3 separate regions of the Homo sapiens genome follow, and all the other regions are linked to region 3. The links are contacts of gene promoters, found by promoter capture Hi-C in blood cells and fetal thymus (Javierre and others, 2016). All regions are on one chromosome and are shown on one strand. Each heading gives the region's core, a stretch centred on a gene start or on the middle of the fragment in contact. The rest is flanking DNA. Distances are from core to core; before and after follow the strand shown.

Region 1 (2,949 bases), core at 30-2,529, 240 kb after region 3:
TGCCACTTCAGCAGCCACTTCTTTTAGACAGGGTGTGTGGCTCCCATTTTGCCACAGTCCCCACCACTCCTTATCATATTGCACAGCTTTGCTCATTTGCAAGTATCAATTATGATACTTGCCAGACCCTTGAAGGCATCTGTGTTTCCAACCACTGTCTAAGTCAGTTATCTTCCAGGTGAACACATGCCACTCTCACCTCACCCAATCCCGCCACCCCATAGCATCCCCCAAAAACATCCTCAGGTGCCTTATGCCTCCCAGGTCTGAGCCAGGCCTTCAGTAGCCCCCAAATTCTGGTTCCTCCTTCATCATATGCAGAGGAACATTCTCCTCCCATTTATTCCTTTGTTGTCCTGAAGATCAAAGTGATGCATGTTCTTTTTGCAGAGAATTTGCAAAGTACAGAAAGATGTAAAGAAAAAATTTAAAAACCATAATTGCACCACGCAGCTTGGCATATGCTTCTGTTTATTTTTTCCCTGTGATTTTTCTTTTTTACACATGATCTCATAATGCATACAGAGAATTCCAGTCTGCTTTTAAAAAGTTTTTTTTTCCTTAACATTTTGTCATAGGTATTTTCCCCAACATCAAGAATCTTATTTTGCTTTGTAAGTAGAATTTTTATGGCCATGTAATATTTTACCATAATTTGCTTAAGTCATTCTCTAACGATTGGCTATTTAGGTTGTTCCCATTGGGGCTATTATAAACAACACTGCAGGGGACATCTTTGTGCATAAATATTGCTCCGTATTTCTGATCTTATTTCTTGCCTTTTTGGAACAGATTACAAGAAATTAAAAGGTAGGGACATAATTTGATAACCATTAAAATCTCTGACCAAGCTGCTGTAGGAATTGTTTCAATTACTTGTTACCTGGCCTCCTCCTCCTTCTTCCAAGGACTTCAGGCCAGATTCATTTTGCCCCAGCCTTTTAATCAAAAGGTGCCCCTGGTACATAGTCCCACTGATGGGCTGGGATTTCCATAGCGTGAGGAAAAGTGGGAGCAACTTCCAGACCAAGTGCCCTCTACCATCACAAGGAGGCCCAAGAGACAGGCTGCAGGGTGACAGGGCCGAGGTCCAGGAGGACCAGAGGATATCCGGGGGTGACTTATAATACCTGCCCCTCAAGAGCCATAGCCCAAAAGGGTCCCTGCAACCTTGAAAACGCGATACCAAGGGCAAGAAGCCAGACATAAAACGACAACCACTGTATGATTCTACTTACACGAAATACTTAGAATAGGCAAATTCAAAGAGACAGAAAGTAACTCGAGGTTACTGGGGACTGGTGGCTGAGGGAATGGGACGTTATTGCTTAATGGGTACAGAGTTTCTGTTTAGGGTGATGAAAAAGTTTTGGAAATAGATAGTGGTGATGATTGCTCAACAGTGTGAATATAATATCTTTAAAATGGAACGATTAAGCCGGGCACGGTGGCTCACGCATGTAATCCCAGCACTTTGGGAGGCAGAGGCAGGAGGACTGCTTGACCCCAGGAGTTCAAGGCCAGCCTGGGAAACATAGTGAGTCCCTCGTCTCTACTAAAAGGTAAAAATGTTAGCTGGGTGTGGTGGCACGTGCCTGAAGTCCCAGCTACTCGGGAGGCTGAGGTGGGAGGATCACCTGAGCCCAGGACGTTGAGGCAGCACTGCGATCCAGCCTGGGTGACAGAGACTGTGTCTCAACAACAACAACAGAAACAAACAAACAAAATTATTAAAAAGGCAAGTTTTTGTGCTGTAAATGTTTTACCATAATTTAAAAAGGAAAAAAAGTCTGCCAACAAGCGGTGAAGTTACCCAAAGAGGACAAGGGAAGTTCCTGCTTGGCAAGGATAGGAACAGCCCTGCAGAAAAGGTGGGGACCCGGAATAGCTGGGGCCTAGAGGATGGGGGTCCTCTTTGACGCTGTGTACTTCTGGTGACTTTATAGATCAAATAACATTTTGAATAAAGTTTTACAGGAATGCAGAACTTAGTTTTGCTCTTTAAAGCTACCCTGTCACATATAGAATGTTTCATTCTTTGTTCTTTGAGGAAGAAGTAGACGTCGGCTGGGTGTGGTGGCTCACACCTGTAATCCCAGCACTTAGGGAGGCTGAGGCAGGCGGATCACCCGAGGTCAGGAGTTGGGAGACCAGCCTGACCAACATGACAAACCCCCACTCTCCTAAAAATTCAAGAATTAGCTGGGCATGGTGGCGCATGCCTGTAATCCCAGCTACTTCAGAGGCTGAGGCAGGAGAATCACTGGAACCCGGGAGGTGGAGGTTGCAGTGAGCCAAGGTCATGTCATTGCACTCCAGCCTGGTGACAGAGCAAGACTCCGTCCCAAGGAAAAAAAAAAAGTAAATGTCACTAATGGAATGGCTAAGAAACTGGCCTGAAAGGAACCACCCCCTCCTCCTCCTTTTTTTAAGAGAGACTTCTGCTTGGTTGGGTGGCAGGGATCCTCTGCACCGATACCAAACTCAAATGGGTTTCCACCCCACCGTCAACCTAGATTTGACTTTCTTAACCTCAGTGGGGTTTTAAACCCTAGCCCCATACATTGACCGGGTCGGATGCCACATGTCAGGCAGGCAGTCTAGTGATGACACTGAGATGGTATCGCTCAGAAGAGCCGTGGGTCCTGTTTTCAGAGGTGGATGTTTGGACTGAGAATTCTGCCATTTCTGTTTCCTCTAAGAGGAGGCTGTCTGGTGAGAAGCTGTTAAGCACCATGGTGAGTGTGACATCATGGTGAGTGTGAAGGGCGCCCAGCACTCTCGCGGCCCCGGTCGGCCCTTCGTTGGGTGTTGCAGGGATTGTCTAGGTTTGGGAGGCACGGAGGCGGGGAGCTGTGTTCTTCTACTGATGGTCGCCCCTGTCCTGACTGCAGTGTCATGACTGTTCATGAGAAAGTATCTTTAATAAAGCTAGTGACAGTGTGGCTT
Region 2 (2,886 bases), core at 77-2,576, 170 kb after region 3:
TTGTGCCCTGAGGCCCTTCAGAAGATTTTTAAATGGCTGTGGGACAAGGGCTTTGGGAGCTCCTTTTGGGAGAAGGCAGTCCCTCTGGTGAGGGTGAGACAGCAGTGAGCTTAGTTCATCAGAACCAGCTCTTTGGTGCCCTCCAAGTCGGGAGTAGGGGGAAGGGGTTGAAGCTGCATCTTTTAAAACAAAAGCAAAACAAGTTCCCTGACTGAGCCAGCTAAATGGAATCCTGTTTCCATGCAGAAACTTGCTCCTGATTCTGCCATCTCTAGGGCTTCAGGTGTAGTTTCACTGGAAAGGAGGAGCCCACCCAAGAGGTGGGGTCGACATGATGAAATCCATTGTCCTGGAGGGGCCTGGGAGGCCCAATGGACTTTAACAACATATTCTTTCCTTTCTCTTGAAAACACATTGAACCTACGCTCTTGCCGCAGTACTAAGGCAGGCTGGAGGGTGGTCAGTTCCAACAGCTTGAACTCAGAAAAACATGACTTCAAACTGTAGCTTATGCTGATCTTTAGATCTAATCCTTGTGTGGGTAGGGGGAGGGAGCCCCTTCCCCAGTCTTTCTCACTCCTGTCTGCCAAGAAATGCAAACGGTTCATGTCTAGCTTGGGTACTGCCTCTGGGAGGAGAAGTGACACGTTAAGTAACTGATACCAGGAATTCTAGGGTGGCGATTGTCTCTGCCAGGTTTTAACATTAAGATTTTCACAAATAATTGCCTGGGGTAACATTTTTGCAAAAGATCTTACTGATTACTTTGTAGTATTGTTCACACACAAAAATAAATATTTACACGAATTCAAATGTTGAGTAGTACTGAGCAGGTGGGGCCAGATGTGTGGATGGCTGGGGTGTGGGAGAGGCCTTGGGCACTGGAGGTTGTGCTGTGCTAAGGGTGAGTCTCAGGTGTCCTGGCCCTGACCAGAGGCCTGGGGATTGGTCAGATGGAAGGCAGAGGTGGTGTGGCTGGATGGGGTATTGGAGGCCACTTGAGAGATAACGACCACCCCCAACCTCTAGGGGCCGGAAGTAAGCACGGGGTGGGCACCCTACCTTTCAGAGTTCTGGACCTGAGGCAGGATGGGGCATCCTCACTGGTGCCCCCCCCATCCCTCCTTGGGGGGAGTCTGCCACAGTGCCGGGAGGCAGTGGCCACAGCTGCAACAGGCAATTGGCTGCAGAAAAGCTGGTTTGGGAAGGGGTGCCTGTTCTGGGAGCGAGTGGCTCTCCGTGGCCATCCTAGGATCCACTCGGCCCTGGCTCCCCTGGGGCCTCTCTGCTCTGAGGGAGGAAAGGCAACAGAGGGCTTCTGCCAGCTCTGGGCAGGGGCGGGCAGCAGAGAGCTGCTGTCATGGCTACGGAGTGTTGCACGGAGAGGCCCTGGGGGCCTGCTGAGGTCTGGGCGAGTCCCTGGTTTAGCAGCACTGGTAGGTATTGCACTGAGCAAGAGGAAGTGCCTATCAATCAATCAATCAGGGAGGAAGGAAACCAGGCCAGCTTTTTCTTTTTGCCCTTTTTCACACTCCAGGGATTATGGGTTTCTTCCAGGACCGGCCCCTCCGGAAGGGCTGGTCTTAGGAGAACCCAAGTGGCTCCTCCACTTCCACTGATCCCTTTACTCCAAACATGGCGCAAGGGGATGGGAGCTGCAGCCCGCCCTGGAGCTCACGGCTGCCTGATAGCCGGGGCTCACCCTGAAGAAGTGGCCCCTCTTGGCAGGAGTGAGTCTGAGGGGCCAGGCCTGTGCACAGAAGTTCAGACCTGGCTCCTGGGCAGCGGGGTGTGAGGGCAAGGGCCCTGCCAACCGGCTGCCATCTCCCAGCAGTCCGTCCTGTCAAGCAGCTGAGGGCCAGAGCTGGAGGGCTGCAGTGGCTGGTTAGGGACAGGACGCTCTCTGGGTTCCAGCTCCTGGACACCCAGTCTGGACTTACTTACCTCCCAGGCAGACACATTGTGTGGGGGAGTTGGGGTTACAGCTGTTCAGAACAGGCTCAGGGCACATCCTGGAAAAAGCCCACGCTGGAGTGTGAGGTAGAATACAGGTGACCATGGACTGGGGCTTCTGTAGAATGGGGTCGGGGTGCCTCTTTTGTTTTGCTTTGCCATGGGTGTGGGTGAGGTCCTCCTGCTTGGCGTTGCCTAGGGAGGTGCCTGGTGGTGTCCCTGTGGCAGCACTGGGATCTGCAACAGGATGGCCTGGCCAAGGGCTAGCGGCCACAGGGTGCACCAGGCATGCAGAGGAACAGCCAGCCTGGCACCTGTCCTGCCCCTACTGGCCCCAGCCCACATCAGTGTAGTGATATGGAATGTTAGGTATGGGGATACATCCTTCTGATCAGACAGACACAGACTAGCAATCTGTACAAACACAAAAGAATCCATTTTCAGAAAAATAAATTACTAAGGGGAGAGGAAGAAAGGGTCCACTTTGCTTTTCTCAATAAATATGCAATTCTGCTCACCTAAGACTTGAAAGGTAATTATCTGGGGGTGGGATTCTAACATCAGGGTCCACGAAGGTGATTCTAAACAGAGCTGCAGCCCCAGCGCCTTGTCAGGGGAGCCCCCAACCCTTCCAGAGCTGCCCCGTTGGCCTCTTCCAAGCAGGTCAGAGCACCCGTGTGGTGAGATTCCAAAAAAAAAAAAAAAAAAAAAAAAAAGTGTCCTTGTGCCCAAAGTCTCAGGTGCTTGGAGTGTGGCTAGAAACAGCTCTTTTGGATCCCACCTCTTTCAAAAACAAAATGTACCAACTGGTGAGGCAGGAAGCCAGGTCCAGGCTGGGACAGCCTCCTTCCCTAGGGCAGTGCGCTCCAGGTGCCGGTGGGGTCAGTTCTGCTGTAGGATGAGGTTTTCCAGTTCATCTGCAGAGCGCAGCAG
Region 3 (3,091 bases), core at 333-2,832:
ATTAACAATATCTGCAAAGAAAGCTAATGAAAGGGGGGAAAAAATGAGGCAATTATTAGCTTCAGGAAATACCAAAAGAGGCTGGGTGCAGTCTCTTTTGGTATTTCCTTTATTATTTTATTTAAAAATAAACTTCTTCACTGTAGAGAAAGTGTAAATCAAATTATGTGGGAGTTTTAATGGGCCAGGCCTGAGAATAGCACACATCACATTTAATTGGCCAGAACTTGGTCTGAACTGTAAGGAAGGCTGGGAAATACTGTCTAGTTGTGTGTCCAGGAGCAGGAAGAAATAACGTTTTTGAGAGGAAGTAGCAATATCTGCCACAACAGGCAAAAAGTAGTTGTAGGCAGATGAAGAAGACCATCTCAGGTATTCATTTATTCAAGGAGCAAAACATATTTGTTCAGCAACTACTATTGACTAAGCTTGGTTCCAGGCATGGTGGATACAAGAGTGAACAAATAAAAGACTGCTCTTATGCAGTTTCTATTTAGTGGGGAACAGCAGGTGTAAGTTCCATGGGGGTTGGAACCTGCCCTTCTAGGCCAGTGTGGTTGGAATAGAGTTTTAACGAATTTTGCAGGAAGTAATAAGGACTTCATATTTGATTCTAAGAGCAATGAGACTCCATTAAATCGAGTATTAATCAGAAAGTGGCATGATCTGTTTTATTTATTTATTTATTTATTTATTTATTTTAATCTTTATATCTGAGACGGAGTTTCGCTGTTGTCGCCCAGGCTGGAGTGCAGTGGTGCCATCTCTCTCACTGCAACCCCTGCCTCCCGGGTTCAAGCGATTCTCCTGCCTCAGCCTCCCGAGTAGCTGGGACTACAGGCATGCGCCACCACGCCCGGCTAATTTTTTGTATTTTTATTAGAGACGGGGTTTCGCCATGTTGGCCAAGCTGGTCTCGAACTCCTGACCTCAGGTGATTCACCTGCCTCAGCCTCCCAAAGTGCTGGGATTACAGCGGGAGCCACCGCACCTGGCCGCATGATCTGTTTTAAATAATTACTCTGGCCACCTTATGGAAAATGGATTGTTCGGACAGAGCTGGACAAAAGAATGGAAACAGACCAGATATTTCAGGCAGGCTAGAGATGAGCGTGGCCTGGCCTTGCCTGGGGCGGTTGTGACTGACTGGATTGGGTGAAGGACAGGAAAGCTACAACAAGGGTGCCTATAGGTGTTCGTATTGAGTCACTGGGGGCACCCTAAATGGGAGTTACCTCAGTAGCAGTTTGAGACACCAGTCAGATAATGGATGTGAAAGCTTTTAGAAAGGTTGAACGGCGGCTGAAATCGCGTGTGTTCCATTTACAGATGGGAAACTGAGGCACGAGATACCAGAGGATGGAGTCAGGCCACGTTGTGCGCCACTCTCCCCGCTTAGGTGGGTGAGGAGACCGAGGTGTGTTGGGCCCCCGCTAAACACCAGCACCGACCTGAGCCCCGCCCAGACCCCTCCAGCCGGCTTTCCCTGTCCTCTGCTCGTGTGCCAATAAAGTTATTGAAATTGACACCGGTTGCTAAGGAAGTGGGTCGCCGAGCCAGGTTGCTAAGGAAGTGAGCGGCCACTGTCTCTCCCCATCCGGGGCAGCGGGGAATGGCTGAGCCAGGGGTTCGCCGCCCCCGCCGCCGCCGCCGCCGCCGCCGCCGCCGCCGCCGCCCGCTTTCGGCTCGGGCCTCAGGTGAGTCGGAGGGGCCGGGCGCCCACCGAGCAGGGCTAATCCTGTGGCCGCCTGGGGTTTTCCCTGCGACCTGCGCCCGCGCCTCTGCCTGGCTTTGCTGTCCCGCGAGCCGGAGCATCCTCTGCCCTGCCTCCTAGGCATCCTTTGGTAGTCCGGACGGCCTTGCCCCTCCTTCCCCTGGCAGGGTCGCGGCCCGACCCCCAGACACGGCCACCTTGGGTCGCAGCCCACCTGGGGGCCCTGAGGCGGTGGTCAGGGCCCCAGTTTGGGAGGAGGGCGGGGAAGCGAGAGCCTGGGGTCCGAACCTCGGCGCTGTGCTGGGCTTGCTGTGTGACCTTGGGCAAGTCTTTTCACCTCCCTGGCCTTAGCTGACCTGTTTATTCAATGGGGTCCTAACATTGCTGCTCAGAGTGGTAAAGATAATGAGAAGTGTATGTGAAAGTGCCCTAAATGGGGAGAGGGAGAATTCTTAGGGCACCCTAGATGGGAGACCAAGAGGGCAGTTTGAAGTCTGAGCGAGTTAGAGACGTGGCATTTCCACTTAGTAACTGTGTGGCCCTGGGCAAGTTAATTTCTCTGAGTCTTCTTTTCCTTATCTGTGAAATGAGGTAATAGACTACTGTGGAAATCAGTGAGACTGGGTATGTCAAGTAGCTTGGCACATAGTAAGTGCTCAACCAGCTATTATGAGGCGTCCAGGGTAGGAGGGCAAGACTTCCAGGAGGAGATGACTTTGGGACAGGTAAGGTGTAGGTGTGTAGAGTGCCAGCTCATATGGGTAGTCCTACTGCAATGCCAACCCCCAACCCCGGTTTTACTTCTCCATTCTGCTCAGAGCAAGGGAGGTACTTCTACAAGTAGTCCTGGGAAACTCTTTGAGGTCAACCCCTTGTAGATAGCTGGGGTCATGGTCTCATTTTCTACCTGGGCTTCGTTGACCCTTCCAGAAGAAAAAAGGCATCTTTGTGTCCTTTGGGAAGTGCTTAAAGCAGTAATAACTATTTACAAGCATATGATTAAGAAGCACTTTACCAGGCATATTATTTCATTTAATCTTTATGTAGACTTTGCCAGGTGCCTGGTGATGTCATCCTCATTTTGCCGATGAGGAAACTGAGGTTCAGAAAAGTAAAGGGAAGGACCTGCTTAAGAATCCTTTTTTTTTTTTTTTTTTTTGAGACAGAGTCTTAGTCTGTTGCCCAGGCTGGAGTGCAGTGGCGCGATCTCAGCTCACTGCAACCTCCGCCTCGTGTGTTCAAGCGATTCTCCTGCCTCAGCCTCCCGAGTAGCTGGGACTACAGATGTTCACCACCTCGTCCACTAATTTTTGTAGTTTTAGTAGAGACAAGGTTTCACCATGTTGGCCTGGCTGGTCTCGAACTCCTGGCCTCAAG

Evidence for each region. The method cuts DNA at HindIII sites, captures the fragments that hold promoters and counts their contacts. A CHiCAGO score of 5 or more calls a contact.
Region 1: a fragment that was not itself captured here is called in contact with the fragment with the promoter of KIF3B in region 3 in 1 of 17 cell types (activated CD4 T cells); the score reaches 5.4 in activated CD4 T cells.
Region 2: a fragment that was not itself captured here is called in contact with the fragment with the promoter of KIF3B in region 3 in 1 of 17 cell types (M2 macrophages); the score reaches 5.6 in M2 macrophages.

What each region holds. Positions count from the first base shown.
Region 1 is chr20:32,512,145-32,515,093 of GRCh38, forward strand. The region is part of intron 3 of NOL4L (nucleolar protein 4 like); the gene reads right to left. All of the region lies in intron 2 of LOC101929698 (a long non-coding RNA gene), which reads left to right. Among named protein-coding and RNA genes, the nearest start is that of NOL4L-AS1, 47 kb to the right of the region's middle. The HindIII fragment of the contact is 4,104 bases long and covers 1-2,949 here.
Region 2 is chr20:32,444,761-32,447,646 of GRCh38, forward strand. NOL4L (nucleolar protein 4 like) reads right to left here. Exons shown (of 11, transcript NM_001256798.2): 11 at 1-2,886. The coding sequence ends at 2,836. Among named protein-coding and RNA genes, the nearest start is that of ASXL1, 88 kb to the left of the region's middle. RefSeq lists an enhancer at 662-1,323. The HindIII fragment of the contact is 7,271 bases long and covers 1-2,886 here.
Region 3 is chr20:32,276,069-32,279,159 of GRCh38, forward strand. KIF3B (kinesin family member 3B) reads left to right here and starts at 1,583. Exons shown (of 9, transcript NM_004798.4): 1 at 1,583-1,697. LOC124904885 (a long non-coding RNA gene) reads right to left here and starts at 1,475. Exons shown (of 2, transcript XR_007067561.1): 1 at 1,236-1,475. RefSeq lists enhancers at 1,339-1,388, 1,435-1,945 and silencers at 1,599-1,758, 1,779-1,958. The HindIII fragment of the contact is 2,066 bases long and covers 1,278-3,091 here.